Linked DNA regions of Homo sapiens: all the other regions are linked to region 4. The links are contacts of gene promoters, found by promoter capture Hi-C in blood cells and fetal thymus (Javierre and others, 2016). All regions are on one chromosome and are shown on one strand. The core of a region is centred on a gene start or on the middle of the fragment in contact, and the rest is flanking DNA. Distances in the headings are between cores, read along the strand shown.

Region 1 (4,030 bases), core at 450-2,949, 960 kb before region 4:
TAACTCTTCTTTCTGCCTGGAACTTTTCTCCTGTCCTCATGTCTTACTCCCTCACTTATTAAAGTAACTTCTTGGATGTTACCTTATTAGAAAAGCCTTCTCTAGCTACCTCCACCACTATCCCCCTAATCTAAATATTTTTCTTCATGTCATTCATACAGCTAGTTTTTATTGAATGTCCTAGCCTCCACCCCTCAATCTCCACCAGATGTAAGCTTTGTAAGAGCAGGGACCTCATTTGGTGTGTTCACTGCTATATTTCCAGGTTTTAAAATGTGCCTGGCACATAGTAATGGCTAATTATTCATTAAGTGAACCCTACCTACTCAGAGACAATCACTGTGAATGCCAAAGGACATATTTTTTACGCATTTTCTAGTTGAATATGCACATATAACTTTTTAAAATAAAAATGTGATCATATTCATGTTGTTTCAGCCTAGTATTTTTTTACCAAATTATATGTGAACATCTTTTTGTCTTTTCTGCAATATCTTTTTAGATGGCTACAAAATATTCCATTGTATGAATGTACCATAATTAACTTAAGCATCTTACTGGATACTGAGTTTTTTTCAGTATGCTTCTACCTTTAGCTCATTTTAAAAATGGAGGTGTTGAATTTTTCTTTAATTCTAAGGGTTCTTAATATATTAAGCTTTGGTAAATTTTTCCCAGTTAATTATTTAGGAAGGTTTTGAAGGAGCTGGACAGATGGAGAAGAAGGAACGGGGAAGGGCACCCAAACCCAAAGGGGCATCTTAGCCTTTGCCTCTTTCTTGAGTTCCAACTCCATATTTCCAACTCTCAGCTGCATATTTTCTAGTATCCTAAACTCTGCATGGCTAAAAGTCCATCATCTTCTCCCCTAAGTGATGTCTTCCTATTGGCATTTCTATTCATATTTATGGTATTGTTCTTCTTTCTACTTCTCAGACTGGAAACCTCCTAGTCATATTTCTCAGTCTCTCTTTCTCCCTTTCTCATTACAAATTTGGAGCTTCAGCATCTCACACTTCAGCATTCTGCAATGGGTTCACTCTGTACTTTAAAACTTCCTACTCTGGTCTGTCTTGCACATTTCCAAAATTAAGCATCCTAAAGCATGACTCTAATTATGTCATTTCTCTGCTTACAGCTCCTTTAACATTTCCCCATTCTTTAATTAATATGTTATAGCGGCATTAGATGTCTTCTGCGACCAGAAGTCACCCGCTTTTCTCAGTTTCTCACTCACTCCCTGGTATCGTAGTCCAGTCCCTCTGGGTTACAACCTCTTCTTTGACCATACCTTGTACTCTTCAACGCCTGTGGCTTCAAGTCGTGCTGTTCATTGTTAAGGAAACTCTTCTTCTCCCATATTTGCCTACAAAAACTCTTGTCATCCTTCAAGGCTCAGATTGAATGTTGTTTCTTTTTTAATCCTTCCCCAGTCATGCAGTCCAGAAGGGCTCTTTCCCTACTTCACAGTTTTGTGATACTCGATTTGTGTGTCTCTTATGCAGTTGTTTTACTGACATACTATTTTTTCCCATGTCTTATTTACTCTCATAGATTATAATTTCTTGATGCCAGGGATTTTTGCCTTGTTTATTTATCTTCTTATTACATTATCTAGCATCAGGGCTTACACATAGCAAATGCTCAGTTAACTTTGTTTAATAAATTAATGAAATATGAACAGCTCAAAAATTGTATTATAACCTTCCATAAAAGAGATTAATATCTTTATCATAACCCCTGTAGACTGACAAAACTGGATTTTGCTTCATTCTTTCATATCTGGTTATTTGCAGATGGGACTGAACTGGGACAGAATTGGAAATTTGGAAAAGATTCCTTTTTGAGTTTCTCTACCTTTTTACCTGTTTTCAGGTGAAGTCATACTTTGTTCTTTCCATCTTCCTGATTTCAAAATAAACTTACGAAACCTGGTTATTATTCTCTAGACAGTAGTTTGCAAACTTGGCTGCTCAACAGAATCGCTGGGGAACTTTTAAAATCCTGAAGCTCAGGCCTTACCCAAGCCAGACAAGCCAGATTTCTGTGGGTGAATTTCAGGCATCAGTATTTGTTTTTACAACTTGCCAGGGACCCCAGTGTGCAGTCAAAGTTGAGGACTACCACAATAACAACTTTGTTCTCAAACTTGTATGTGTATCAGAATCACCTGGGTAACACGATAAAACTAGAGCGGCCCAGCCCCTAACCTGCTTCAGGGAGCCTGTTGTTTAATCTTTGATTAGCTCTCCAGGCTATTCCAATACACACTGATGCTTGAGAACCACCTCTCTAGCTAAATGTTACCTCTCCCAGGTAAGATCATGCAGCCTAATTGAAGTCCATGGGTTCATTCACAAGGTCCTGAAGGAACTGATGCTTATGGGTGGGAATTTCATAAAGCCTATTTGGGAATATGATTAAAATATGTTTACACATATTGCTATCTTTACAACAGTAGTTCCTGAATGTCAGATGGGCATTTAGTCATAGATTTACGCCATTTTCATCTTGGTTGCAAACTGTAAACATTTAGTGCAAATGAAGTAATTTACTTTTTGGAACATGATGACCTCTATTGTTTCCTCTTTCCCCCCAAAACAGAGAACATATGTGATGTATAATGTAAATCTCTGGAGTAAATCCAGGGTACACTAGTCCTGTCTGTAGATACTCAACTATCTCTGGAGTAAGTGACAAATAATCCTGTAATGTTAGATGCTATTTCTGTTAAGCTTAAGGTGGGATACTCCTCAGAGAATCTGAATTTCTTTTGTTCATGGATAAAAATAGACTCAAAGGACTGTGCTTAACACTGGAAAAAGGATATATGAAGACTCGGCATGGGGAACTATTCTTTGAGACTATTATTACCTGTATTATCTCTCTTCATGCTTCCAAAGCTTAGAAAAAACAAATGTTTCTCTTTTTTTTTTTTTAAACCTGGACAGATACTGGAAAATTGTTTTTCACATTGTTGGTTACTGTTCATCTCCACTCAGGTTGCCAGGCACATTGTATTTCTTCCCGTCTTTTAAATATTTTCACATTGGATTAGATACTCTATAAAGTCTCTTTCAGTTCAAAAAGTCTATGATTTGACATACTGGATTCTCAATTTGAAATTATCAAGCTTTTGCCGCCAAACCTGGCACTGTTAGCAGGCACATCTCAGTATAGGATGGGCATGTCTGCTCTACCTTTGATTTTCATTTATTTTTCCAAATAGGCTTTGTGTTTTGAAAGGTTTCATAGCAACCAAGTACCCAGGCTATTATCACTGCAAATAAACTAACATAAAGTAGGTATGTAACTTGTAGCAATGTATGTATTATATATATTGATTTTAGTTTATAAGAAAATCAAACATTTCAAACATTTTAAGCCTTGTAAACATTTTAAAGGCTGTGAAAAGGAAATTGATATTGCTAATACAGACGAGATAGAGCTCTCTAATTGTGTTTTGTTTTTACTTTATTTTCTGTTCGTGATTATTGCTCTGGAAAATTTGCAGCTTTTTTTTTCTTTAGTGAATTAAAGAAAGGCTGCATTACCTTCTATTATAAGACATTATTCAACAGAATGACTATGCCAGACATACTAGCATATCTCCAAATTCCTTTAAAATAGAAAGCAGAGAGGGGTTTTGGATGAGTGGAATATTTATTTTGTTGGTAACTGAAATAATCTACAATTTGAAATAAGCTTATAAATTTTTGCCTGTGTCATTATTTTGTGTCATTTTTTCATACCTGAAGTGATACATGCCTATTTACTTTTCCTTCTGATAATACTTATTCTCCACTTCTTGAGGAAATGGAAGCTTTGTTTCATAAAACAATTTTGTGGGGTGTAAGTATTATTGTTGGGCAGCAGAGGGCACTACGGAGCAAACAGAGACCTTGCCGGGAAAGGAAGGGTGTTTTACAGATAGCTGGCAAGTGTCCTGGCTTCTGTTGATTGGTGCTTGTCTATAATTATCAGATTACATGGCCCAAGTCCGTGTTTTGTTGAAAGAGTCCACAAGTAC
Region 2 (4,325 bases), core at 1,567-4,066, 560 kb before region 4:
TTCAGCTTGAGCACCAGTGACAGCAATTGTTACATTTATTCTAGAATGCTAAATTAATTCGATTTTAAACTGATTATTAGCCTCGGTGTGCCGTTCCTAAAGGCTTGTGACTTTAGGTATTTCCAAGATGCCCTTAAGTCTCTGCTTACCACTTTCCTCCCTCCCCGAGCATCCTGGATGTTGGGACTGTGAATCCAGGTCTCCGTTATCTAAATGGTTGATGTTAGTGTTTCCTGTCATCACGTTTAGTATGCTTGTTGCCTTTACTATCATTATAGCTAAAATAATACTGCTTTCAGAGATGTGTTGTATAATCGCATAATAATTTCAGAACGCCTTCATATTGAACCAGATATGAAGTGATACAGTATCATTTATTCAAACTGCCTAAAAAGTAAAAAGTATAAACCATATACTATTTTTAAAACAGGTAGGTTAGATTTAAATCACGTAGTTTAGAACTGTTGGAATGGTACTTTGAGTGATAGGATTTATGTTAGGCCTTCTTTAGTAATAGTTAATATCATGTAATTAGCACTCGTTTACACACAATTTTAATGTGTTCGAATCCCTAGAGTCATCGAATTCAGAATTTATAGTATTTTATTTTACTTAGTTAATATTAACCTAAAAAAAAAGCAAAATACAGGCATTATGCAGTTGAGTTGTGTTAAGTGTGGACTGTAAAACAGGATAGTATTTGTTATAAAATATGTTTTTGTATGTGTTTAATATATAGCTTCAAAAGGACATGTATGAAGAAAGATGTCTCAGCACATAGGTAGTTATAAACCAAGGGTTTGAGAGACTGACTTTAGAATCTAGAATGAGTAAGAAAGTGATGGATCTGTACATTCATTTGTATTGAAGTTTGATTTTGCTTTCAGTTTCGTTAATTAAGCCCCGGGAATCAGGGACCTTTCCTGGCACCCTCTACAGTGTTAGTGGCCTTTGTGGTAAAAGAAGTTATCTCAGATACTCATTTCATGCAATTACAGGCAAACTGGAAGGCACCTTAATGGTATGCAAGATGTGAAATGAATTACTATGTTGCATTCCACTCTGCCCCCACTCATGTACAATTATACTTTGTTTAAAAGTGCATAGTTTCAGTGGTATTTATTAGCTAGCAAATAAAACTTTAAATAAATAATGATGGTGTTGTGAACTGTCTTTTCAGTGGTTGAATGATTCCTCTTTGTTCAAAATGAGTTGTTTTTTTTTTTAAATCAGGGTACATATGATTAAATAAAATTTTTTTCCATCGTCTAAGTCTAGTAGTAATTTGGCTTGTTTAAATAAAAATGTTTTCTCTTAAAGAATATATTATTTTTAATTACAAGTTGCCATTTTAAGGAAGTAAATGCCTATTTAAAAGTACGTATTTATGGGGCCGCCCCAGCAGTCTAGAGGCAGTGTTTTTTAAAGCATTACACTAAATGCCTACCATTAGGACACTTGCTCATGCTGTCATCTGTGTTTTGGCAGATGTTTTATCTTTGTCACTGAGTTGTTCATGGAGATTTGAAAGGCCAAGTTCTAAAGATGAGAGATAGATGACTTTCCCCCCAAATTGATACATATTCTAAATCCAAAATAATCACGCATATTCGCAAAACTAGATTTGCATTTCATAGTATGAATTCAGCTATAGCTAGTATATAGGCATTGCTTTTAATATAGTAATGTTCTTTTTGTGGCATAATTTTCAATCACTTTCCCTGTCTTAGGTTTCTGCCTACCTTTTTATACAAGATAAACATTTCTATTTTCATATCTTATCTCTCAGTCTGATTTTAATAATATCGTCTTGGGTTATCATAAAGTTACTTTCACTTTGTATACTAGTGTAGATATTTCTTCTGTGATAAAAAGAACAAGAATAATAGTGTAGGATCAGTTTTGTTAAACTCATTGTAGTACTAAAGTAGAAAATACAGAGCACCCAGGAAATTTGATTCTGATATACCTAGACTAAGACAATAGAATCTGGGTTTTTCCTCTTTACGATTATACAGTGTTGAAACAGAAATCAAGCTACACCCACCTCTGAATATTTCATTCCAAATCCATGGAGCAGTTGCATAAGACTCAGAATCTGGTCAATCTCATGGTTTGAGATTCAGATTAGGAGAATTAATGTGCATATTTGAATATATATCACACTTGTAGGTTAAAAGGTAAAGCAAGGGGTTTGGCTAGTTCAAGGCCTGTCAAAACCACTTTTTTCCATTTCAAGCAAGTATGAGCCTATACTACACACCAAGCAGTTTGCAAAGCCCTCTTTGGCATATAGACAAATTTCAGACAGTATGTCAGTATGTCTCTTAATGACTTAAGATGTAGTATATAGACAGTAGGGATATCTTGTTTTTATTCCCTCATGGTACTTAGGTGCTTGTTAAGGCCATAATTCTGGATGTTATTGACTTTAAACTGCCCTGCCCTTTTTAATTCTAAGTTGGCCTCTTCCATTCTTATAAGGCCACTTTTAAATTCATTAGGGGGATTGCGTTGGGTCAGAACTAAGTACAACTTGTGGACACCCCACTCTACCCCAGACCTTTATTTTAGTGTCCATTGAGGAGAGATCTGACTTCATCCTTTTTGTACGTAACCCAGTGTAGCTAGAGACTCCAGTTCTTCAAGCCAGACACTAGTTCTAAGGGGCAAAAGTAGGTAGGATTGCTTTCTGGCATGTGTCTTTACTGATGATCTTTGCTTCTTTACCTAAGAGGCTGCTGAGACTTCTTACTCCATTCCTGAACATCCATTCCCAGCAGATAATTAACTTCCTACTCTACTGCAAAAAATAGTGGTGTGTGGTTTGGACTCCCTCTGCTTCCCTCCCACCATTACTAAACTGATCTATAACATCTTAGATAACCTTCGTCTCATTCTCTTCCGTCATCCAGCTTCAGAAGAAAACCTACTCACTTTTCCAACGAAAGGACAACCTGTCTACCACCTTTTCACTTCTACCATCTTGGAGACCTGCTCAGTCAGCATAATTCTTCAGTCTTGCATCTTAGATCTTTCCCTCTCCATTGACTCCTTCCCCGTAGCTTGCACACATGATCAAATTTTACCCCATATTAAAAAATAAAACAAAAAACCTCAAGAACCAAAATGTCCTTGCCCTTGTTCCTGCCTGCACATTGTCAGTTGTTGCCTTCTCTGCTTTCTTACACTGCCAAATTTATTGTAAAAGAATCACTGCCACTTAATATATTTTAAGTGCTTGATAAAGCCATCTTGTTTCTCTCTCATTTCTCAAACATAGTGTGCATCAGATCTCACTAGTCCATTGACAGATGGAAAGATATTCTCCCCAAATATTTAAGCCTCTTTTCTCTATAATTAGCCTACCATCTAACTAGCTACACATACTATTTTGGTTCACAATTTTAATTTTCCCCTCTTTATCTCCCCTGCTTCCCACAACTAACTTCTGTTGATTACTGTAAGTTTTAGGTCTTCTCTCCAGTTGTTCTTTACCTGGACTATTGCAGTAGTCTGTTAACGGATCTCCCTTTCTCTTTTCCCTTGCTGCCCTCAGTCCTTCCTTTACACTGCTGTCAATGTTTTTTTTTTAATGAAATTAAATCTGAGTGGTTTACAGTTGTTTATGTTATCAAGTCTAAACTCAGCATGACATTCAAGGAAGCCCTTTAGAATTTTTCTTATTCATCTTTTCCAACCTCATTTCCTAGAGCTCACCTAAATAATTCTCTGCTTTCAGTTCTTCACTTTCTTTATCTGGCTGTACACGTTACTCTGCCTAGAAAGCCCCTTCTTTCCCATAACATTCTTACTCATCCTTTAAGACCCAGTTTAAACATCACCCTCTAGGAAGATCATTCATAGACACATTCTTGTGATTTTTAAGGAACTTTTCTATCCAACCATACAAGTGACTTGAGATTTTCCATGAAAATATGCAGCTTCATGATTTCATAATCAAGTCTATACAAGTGAGAAGCAGTGGCAGGTTCTCTTGAAATACAGAAGAAAAATCTATCTTCTCCCACATGATTTTTAGATTTTTCTTCTATGGAATTTATACTTTAAACTTTTTACATTCACAAGGAAGGTATTGAATCCTACTTTCTGGACCCTGTGTTAGATTCTTAGGATACCAAATGAAGACAGTGTCTTACTTTCTGAGCCTGGAGAGATCAGTTAAGTAAAATAGTAATTACACAGTAGTAGGTACAGTGACAACATTTGAACACAAGGCAATGGGAGCAATAAGGAGGGGAAGAATACAATTGAGTAATGGTAGGGAAGGGGAACAAGATTGAACAACTCAACTGTGCTTTAGT
Region 3 (3,859 bases), core at 1,182-3,681, 610 kb before region 4:
ATCTATAGTCTGGGGTAAAATTTCCTTTCCTTGTATTAATTCAGCTGAGCCTTCACTGCATGCTCTGAGAGGGTGCATTTTTCTCAGCCCACCCGTTTTCAGTGTTTCCTCATTCACTTGCTCCAAGTTCACTTTACTTTGAGAAGAGCCCTTATCACTGTGTTGCTAGTACATTGAGCCAAAACTCTAGCCACTATTTACTTGGAATGCCATTGAAATACTTTCTTATTTTTGTTTTCCCAAAGCCTTCTTTCTCTTTCTTATCTGAACTTTCTATGTCATCACTGTGGAGCTGAGGAGATTTTGTTTTTGTTTTTGTTTTTGTTTTCGTCCTCTGCTCCTTTTGATGGAAGGAGTAATTTCCATATTGGTTTCGATTTGAACAGTGGATTTTCTCACTGGGTAAAACAAGAATGCCATGACACTTTCTGTGTAATTTCTGTATATTAAAGGTATCTATGGCAGTAGCAGACCGAGGCTACCCTCCTTAACCATTTACATCCAATGCTGAGTGTGATTCTAAAGCACTTAAAGTGATACTGAAAACTATTACTTTTAAGTGGCATTTTCAGAGGTTTGTCAGTTATAAAATAACCAAGTAGGAAGCATCAGTGAAAGCCATCTGGCCTTCAAATACTGCTTGTCTCTCCCTCACTCTATTATCTTTCTAGAGTCCCTGAAACCCTTAGCTTTGTTCATTCTTCAACAGACAGTATTTATTAATGTCCTTCAAGTGTTCCATCAGGGAGCCGGGTGGTGGGAATTAATACAACAGTATATGTGTATGAATATACATGGGGCTGTACCCACAGAGCTTATTAAACAAGTGTTGTCAATGACGGGTGCCAAATACCATGACAGGAGAAGCATGCTTTACATAGGAGCCTTCCTGGGAACTTCTAATCCATGAGGGTAGAGGGAGGCAGAAGCTTCCTGGAGGAAGTAATATTTTTAACAACCCTACCCTGTCATTCTTTTGAACCAAGGCATTTATTTATCCTTGTTGAAATGCAAACTACTTACCACTTACCCAGGAGAATAACACTTTTAGATCATAAGAACTCTGGGTATGTTGGCATACATTAGCTTGTCCACAAGCTAAGGCCCTGAGGAAATGAATATTAGAATTATTAAATTTTAGATGGCAGCAAAAGGAAGATTAAGCCCATGGCTCTGTTTAAAGATCAGGAGGCCACTTCTATGGGGAACTTTTTGTCTGCAGAACTTTGGGGTTCTGGGGATTAAGATAGGGCTTAGGCTCAAGACACTAAAATAGGATTCAGGTTACATGGATGATTTCCCCTACATTATAGTTTTGCCTAAGCCTATTCTACTCTTGAGCTAGTCCTTACAACTCCCACTCATCAGGGAAAATGCCTCCACTTGGCTTCTGGATAGTGAAAGTGAAGTGTGAAATGTAAGAGGAAAAGTATCTTTATAAAATCTGATATGCCCAAGATAGTTCTGCACCAAGACAAGTTTAGCTGGAAAAAATTCATCTTTCTGTTTTTCTACAGGTTATCTCTATGATCTCTCCTTGTATGTAAATTATTTATAAGAGTGTGATTCTAAAACTCAAGGTAAAAATTCGTCACTCACTTTTTGTTTACATGAATACGTGCCAGAACCTACACTTCCCCATTCTTATAGCATTACAAAAATGCCGATACATGAGTCTCCTGTTTATTAACTGGAAAAGCTTTCAACTGAAAATCCCCACTGTGTAATTTATACAGGCACTTTGAGATGTAATAAAAATCCCTAACCCTAATCTCAACCTCTGTCCTTTTAAAATCCAATTCAGAACACTTGTCAAGTGATTGACTAGAAAGGTGCCTTCCATTAAGCAAATGCCAGGAGGTGTTTTCTTCTGAAAATGAAGAGAGTTAGCAAGTGATCAGCAACTAGGAATTTTGTCTCTATCCTTCCTGTTGTGAGAGCTCTAACTCTGAGCCAGGATCCCTGCCTCCAGCTCTTAGGAGTTTGAGTGCATGTGTGTGTGTGCGCGCACGTGTGTGTGTGTGTGTGTGTGTGTGTGTGTGTGTGTGTGCATGCATAGTCATGCTTTGGAGTGAAGAGGAAATTCAACTCTGAGTTTCCACTTTTCCTGTGGACAAAGATCTGTTCCTTGTGTCCCCACATGGCATGGTGGAAATGGGGCATGCGTCACAGAAAGGATAACATTTTATAGGCTACAGTGCACTAGAGCACGTTAACTTTTATCCCAACAACAAACCTGCAGAAAAAGAGTAGGTTAGTTACAGATGTTCTTTTGCTTACCAACTTTCAACCTATGGATATTCACAGATAAAATCCCAAGCTCTCCTGTGAGAACATACTACATGGTAACAGCAGATGATATGGAATGTACACTGCTGCCTTTTGAACTCAAAAACTGTGCTGTTCACCATCAATGCATTTGCTGTGTTTGTGAGAGTTTTTTTTGAGAAGTTTTCCCAAGCATTATTAACCACATCAGATTCAATAAATCCAAGAAAATGGAGAGTGTTCAAAGTCCTTGTTGATATATACAATTACCATGGAAACAGAAGAGATTTTTAAAAACTGGAAGTGATGAGAAAAAGAGGAACTCTTCACACGAATATAGGATGAATTATTCAATAGTAGAAATGATTATAAAGGGCAAAGAGCAAATCGTGCAACGTACAAAAGTGCTGTGCCTGTGTCCGTGGACAATATCAGCAAGAGAATGGAAGAGGAAGACAAAGGATGACTTCTTGAGTCGGCACCTTGACACTAGATGGGCAGAGGAGCCTCCTGTTCATTCCGGGGAGGGCTAACTTGGGAGAAGTTTAAGAGCTGGCCAAAGAGACTCTGCTCTTGAAACTGTTGCCTCAAGGCAAAGGGATGCCTCTTCCAGTCTGGTTCACATCCACATGAGGGGCGAGGCGACGAGAATGCAGGCTGTGGCTCCTAAGGACCTCCTCAGGACACTTGGGAGATCCCCAAGAACAGTTATCTGCCCCCACAGACTTCCAGCAGAGACAAATGACAAATGACAATAATTTTGGGGAAAATGTCCTTCACTCATTCAAAAGCTATATTTTTAGTGCCTTCTATGCACCAAACATTATTTTATCACCTAGGCAGACATGGCATTGAACATGCATAAACAAGAACACCAGCTTTTATTAAAAGCTTTGAGAAACTGATTCATGCTCCTATTCCTGGAAGTGCATTTGTGACAGCAAGCTTAGTCACTTTGGAATTTCCAACAAACAGATTCAATTACAACCATATTGTAAGTAGAATAGTTTCTGTGTTAGTAGTTGCCAGTCTAATAATGAGGAAACTGGGCTATGCAGGGCTTAAGACACTTGTCCTAAGTTGTCAGAGGTGGAATGGAGTCAAATCCAGCTGTTGATTTCAAACTAGTGCTCTCATCTATGCATCTCAATTCTTTACAATATGATCCAACATACTGTCCTATAGATGAACCAAAAACTGACTCTAAAATTTCCTTTCTCCAATTCTTGGAAGCCAATGACATGCAATGTCTTCAGTTTTATTTTTTGCATATGATGAAGAGCTACTTTCTAGTAACTTACTAAGTATTTACTAAGGATTACTACATTATGGCATAATGATCTAAAATTAGCACATTATTACAGTTTACCAATGACTTAATTCTGTGCTATACTAAGAAGATTGCATAGCACCAAAGAACTGTTAATTCTGGCATGTGACTCACTTAGAGACAAGGAGATAGTTTGGAACTTCTGTAATTTTTAGTAAATAGGCTATACATTTTGAGTGTTGTTATCATGAGTGGGCTGGAGATTTCCATTTCTGCCATTCTTACCTTTCATTATAACTCACTGTTAATTTGATTTTTAAA
Region 4 (4,281 bases), core at 909-3,408:
ACAAAAGTCGCGCGAGCAGAGGTGGCGGCGGCGCGCAGGGGCGGGGGGCCGCGTGGGGGCCCCCACGCCGCCAGTGGGCAACCCCAGGAGATGGCGAAGAACGCCCCTCCCCGCGCGGGGAAAGTACCCCAGTCCCAGTCAGCCACCCCGGGAACGGCAGCCCGGCGTCCGCGGCCGGGAGAAGAGAACTGGACGTGTCATTAGCAGGACAGGCAATGGTTTCAAAGCCCCAGGCCAATGACCATTAGCAGAGGCAGAGCTCGCTCCGTCCCCATCCCCCACAACCTCCACCCACCTTCCCCTTCGCCCCCCCCCCCACCTCCACCCCACCTCGCGAAACTTTTCAACAAGATCCACCTGGACTAATTTGTCCACAGACAGTTAAAATATTGACTAGACCCTACACACTGGGAAGGAAGGGGAATGCACGCTTTATTTTCCTTCCTACAGAAAGGAAAGCAAAAAATAGCTTCTCTCTCTGTCTCTCCCTCTCCCCCCCCCCCCCTCTGTCGTACATGTTGTGTCTTAGCTTTTTGCATCGTTTCGTTTTACCTTCCTCATTTAGCAGAAATGATCGCGGCTATTTCACACATAAACGTGTTCCAGATTCTGGGATTCAGGGTCCTTGTAAATTACAGGACTCGGGTTCGGTCTCAGTTATGTTAAGTTTCATACAATACCAAAAAATAAATAAAATATGATAATAAATTTCAGAGGGTGAGTGAGCGAGACGAGGTGGAGGAGGAAAAGAAACCTCGAGTCTGATTTCTGTAATTTACTAGCGACCCGGATCGCAGCAAATAACAGTGTAACACGAGTGTGGCTTAAGAGGGCTAGGGAGCTCTTTCTAGAGGCATCGACCCCATCCCCGGATAAAGGATCTGCAAGTTTTCTGTCATCGCGACCAGGCAAAGCCGTAACTTACCTTCAGAAATAAGACTTTAAACGGCCAAGGCCTTCCTCCTCCCCTCCACCACCACCCTCAGCCTCGCTCTCTCCACCTTAAACTTATTGACACAACATAATCCCACATTCAAGCAAAATCCTGACACAGCCTCCCTCCTCCTCTTCCCCCTCCTCTCTTCCCTCCCGTTCTCTCTCTCCCTCTCTCTCTGTCTCCCTCTCTCCCCCCCCTTCCCTCCCTCTTCTCTCTCCCCTTCTCCCTCGCCCTCTTCCCCCTCTCCCCCTATTCTTCCTCCAGGCTACTCTGGCACTAAAACAGCACTTTCTCTACTCGCCGCGCATTTGGGTAGGGGTGGGGGGTGAGAGGGCACTGATCTGCGGGGCCGGAACACCCAAATCCCAACTCTCCAGATGAACGAGCAACTGGGCTGCTGTTCCCGGTCACCAACGCAGACGAAACGTTCAATAAATCCACCGAAGGCTGGCTCCTCGTACCTTCCTCCACTGCCCCTGCTCCCCAGGCCCCACCTCCCCGGCAGCCGAGACCAGGCAGGGCTCCACGTACTTTCGCCGAGATGAAGTTTGGGGCTCCCCGGGCGGCCACGAGCCGCCCGCCGGCGTGAGGGCTCTGTTGTTGTTTTCCTGGGGCCGCTCCAGCCCGCGCCCCGGCGCCCGTGCCCCTCTCAGGCGGCGCTGCCTGTGTGCCGAGAGGTGCTGGTTGCAAACGCAGCCTGGCACCGGCTGGCCTACTACTCCCCAGCCCGGCCCCCAGCCTCCCGCTCGCAGGGCACTGCCTCAGCGCCCCCCGCCCCCCGGCCCCAGCCGGCGCGGCCGCCGCGACCCTCGCCCCCGACCTCTCCCGACCCAAAGTTTTGGCGGAGGGGGAAAGTGCCCAGGGAGCGGGCCGGCTGGCGGCGGCTCCGGACGCGCGGGGTTCCCTCCGTCTTCCTCAAGTCCACCCTACCGGCTGCCGCCGCCGCCGCCGCCGCCGCCGCCGCTGCTCCTGCCGCGGAGTCCTTGGGGCTGCAGCCCGGCGGCTCGCAAGTGAGTAGGAAAACAGAAAGTGAGGGGAGTGCGCCCAGGGAGGGCTGGGGATGGGGGGCGCCTACCTCGCGGGCTCGCCGGGCGTGAGGGCGTGTGTGTAGCTAGCCCTCAGCGGCCAGTCAGGGTTTCTCTATGGGAAAGTGGAGAGAAGCTCGCGGAGCCGCTCTGCCTCCGCTTCACTGTACACTGCTCCACATACAGTACATGCAACCCGGAGAGACTGAAAACACTCATTTTATATAAGGCAGCCTGCCATTGGCCCGCGCAGTGACGGACAGGCCGCGCAGCCAAACAAGAGGCCCGTTACACCCAAACACACGCACACATACACACATTTTACAGAGACACACAAAGATCATCACATTTTCTATTTTCTAATGTTCGGGACCTGTAGACAGTAGGAGAGGACAGGTAAAGAGGCCCAGCAGAGTGGGGTAAAGGGGAAAACCCCTGTCTGCACCAAGTTGCAAGGCTTGAAACTGGTGTCCTTTTGACTTGGGAGGGTTATGGTAATAAACTACAACTCCACTGGATATGGAAGTGAGGGGGGTTTTTCATCGCTGCCTTTTGGTGCCCCATGGAAGAGGCCTGCATTGTGTTACGATTTTACAGCCTGACCCGGCTAACAAGTGGCCAAGAAAGGCTTTTATCACCTTGGATTTCTTTTGTCAATGGGTTAGCTATCACATAGGCCAAAATAGTGCAAGATAAGTTTATCAGGACTCTAATGCATTGAGGTTGTTAGTGCCTCATTCGTAGGTAGATTCAAAAAAATCAATATAACAACACACAAAGATAAACATTTTGCTGAAATAGCCAAACAACTTTTAACTGGTCAGTGGACTGCCATCACCTGTGTGGACATGCAAACTGTGCTGTTAGGTAAAATAAGTCATGGAAGATTGGCTATTGACCCTTAGCCTTCAAAACAGACCTTTGATTCAATATATACATGATTTATATTTTGCATATTATATATAAAAATATATGACTCTTTACATATTTCACATCTCATGTGAACATCATATGTTGCATGACTTTTGGAGATGATGAACCTCAGGACTGGTCTTTCTGATTGTTTTTCAACAATGCAACTTCAGAAGATTATATGAGACAGTTCAATACACATAAGTCAACAGGTTGGTGGAAAGAAGTCAAAGCTGGAAATTAGAAGGAATAAATTGTAGATTAAACTCTTTAACCAGCTGAGCAATCTTGAGCAAGTTACTTAACCTCTCCAATGCTCAGACTTGGTTTTGATTTTTAAGATTAAAATAAGAAGCTTTTCCAGATTCCCTCAATTAAATGTTTATTCAGCATCTACTATGTGTCAGGCATTATCTTAGGCCTAGATGTTTTCTTAGGGTTCCTTCCGTTTTAAGAGTTGGTGAATTATTCTCAAATACAAACATTTTGGAGATTACATAAACACTACGATTTTATGGCCTAGGTAAGTAGCTTTAAAACTTAAAGAAAACCCAACTAGGGCAACTTATTTCAGTTCCCCTTTTATTTCCTTGATGCTGTCTTAAGGTTTTTCTCTCGCATCCATAAAGTTGTTAAAAGAGTGTATGTGTGCATGTGAGCACTCCTGTGTAAGAGGGAGAAAGAGAAACAAAATCAGAAAAGTTTAAAAAGTTCAGAAAACAAAGTGGTATTTAGAAATGTGATGTTTATTTTTTTAGAAAAATCATTTTTAAAAGGAAAAGTATATAAAAAATCACAGCATTTTATTTTATTTTATTTTTGAGATGGAGTCTAACCCTGTAGCCCAGGCTGGAGTTCAATGGCGTGATCTCAGCTCACTGCAACCTCCGCCTCCCGGGTTCAAGAGATTCTCCCACCTCAGCCTCCCGAGTAAGCTGGGACTACAGGCACCTGCCATCATGCCTGGCTAATTTTTGTATTTTTGTAGAGACAGAGTTTCACCATGTTAGTCAGGCTGGTCTCGAACTCCTGACCTCAGGTGGTCCACCTGCCTCGGCCTCCCAAAGTGTTGAGATTACAGGCATGAGCCACAGCGCCCAGCCAATCACAGCATTTTAAACAGATAATATCAAAGTTTGTATTAGGGGTGGGCGCGGTGGCTCACATCTGTAATCCCAGCACTTTGTGAGATGGAGGCGGGTGGATGACCTGAGGTCAGGAGTTCGAGACCAGCCTGTCCAACACGGTGAAACCCCCGTCTCTACTAAAAATACAAAAATTAGCTGAACGTAGTGGTGGCACCTGTAATCCCAGCTATTCGGGAAGCTGAGGCAGGAGAATCACTAGAACCCAGGAGGTGGAGGTTGCAGTGAGTACAGACTGCACCATTGCACTCCTGCCTGGGGG

Evidence for each region. Contacts are between HindIII fragments. The CHiCAGO score rates a contact against its expected background, and 5 or more counts as called.
Region 1: a contact is called between a fragment that was not itself captured here and the fragment with the promoter of BBX in region 4, in 4 of 17 cell types (M0 macrophages, M2 macrophages, total B cells and 1 more). The highest score is 8.6, in M0 macrophages.
Region 2: a fragment that was not itself captured here is called in contact with the fragment with the promoter of BBX in region 4 in 1 of 17 cell types (fetal thymus); the score reaches 7.4 in fetal thymus.
Region 3: a fragment that was not itself captured here is called in contact with the fragment with the promoter of BBX in region 4 in 1 of 17 cell types (fetal thymus); the score reaches 5.1 in fetal thymus.

The regions. Positions count from the first base shown.
Region 1 is chr3:108,477,590-108,481,619 of GRCh38, reverse strand. The region is part of intron 11 of MYH15 (myosin heavy chain 15); the gene reads left to right. Among named protein-coding and RNA genes, the nearest start is that of MYH15, 31 kb to the left of the region's middle. The HindIII fragment of the contact is 2,077 bases long and covers 661-2,737 here.
Region 2 is chr3:108,085,525-108,089,849 of GRCh38, reverse strand. All of the region lies in intron 1 of CD47 (CD47 molecule), which reads left to right. Among named protein-coding and RNA genes, the nearest start is that of CD47, 3.3 kb to the left of the region's middle. The HindIII fragment of the contact is 6,383 bases long and covers 1-4,325 here.
Region 3 is chr3:108,130,679-108,134,537 of GRCh38, reverse strand. All of the region lies in intron 1 of LINC01215 (long intergenic non-protein coding RNA 1215), which reads right to left. Among named protein-coding and RNA genes, the nearest start is that of LINC01215, 7.5 kb to the right of the region's middle. RefSeq lists a silencer at 456-615 and an enhancer at 2,284-3,483. The HindIII fragment of the contact is 1,460 bases long and covers 1,702-3,161 here.
Region 4 is chr3:107,520,839-107,525,119 of GRCh38, reverse strand. It overlaps BBX (BBX high mobility group box domain containing), which reads right to left and starts at 2,158. Exons shown (of 18, transcript NM_001142568.3): 1 at 2,013-2,158. RefSeq lists silencers at 1-28, 1,482-1,551, 1,662-1,751, 1,782-2,091 and an enhancer at 2,492-2,541. The HindIII fragment of the contact is 5,936 bases long and covers 1-3,231 here.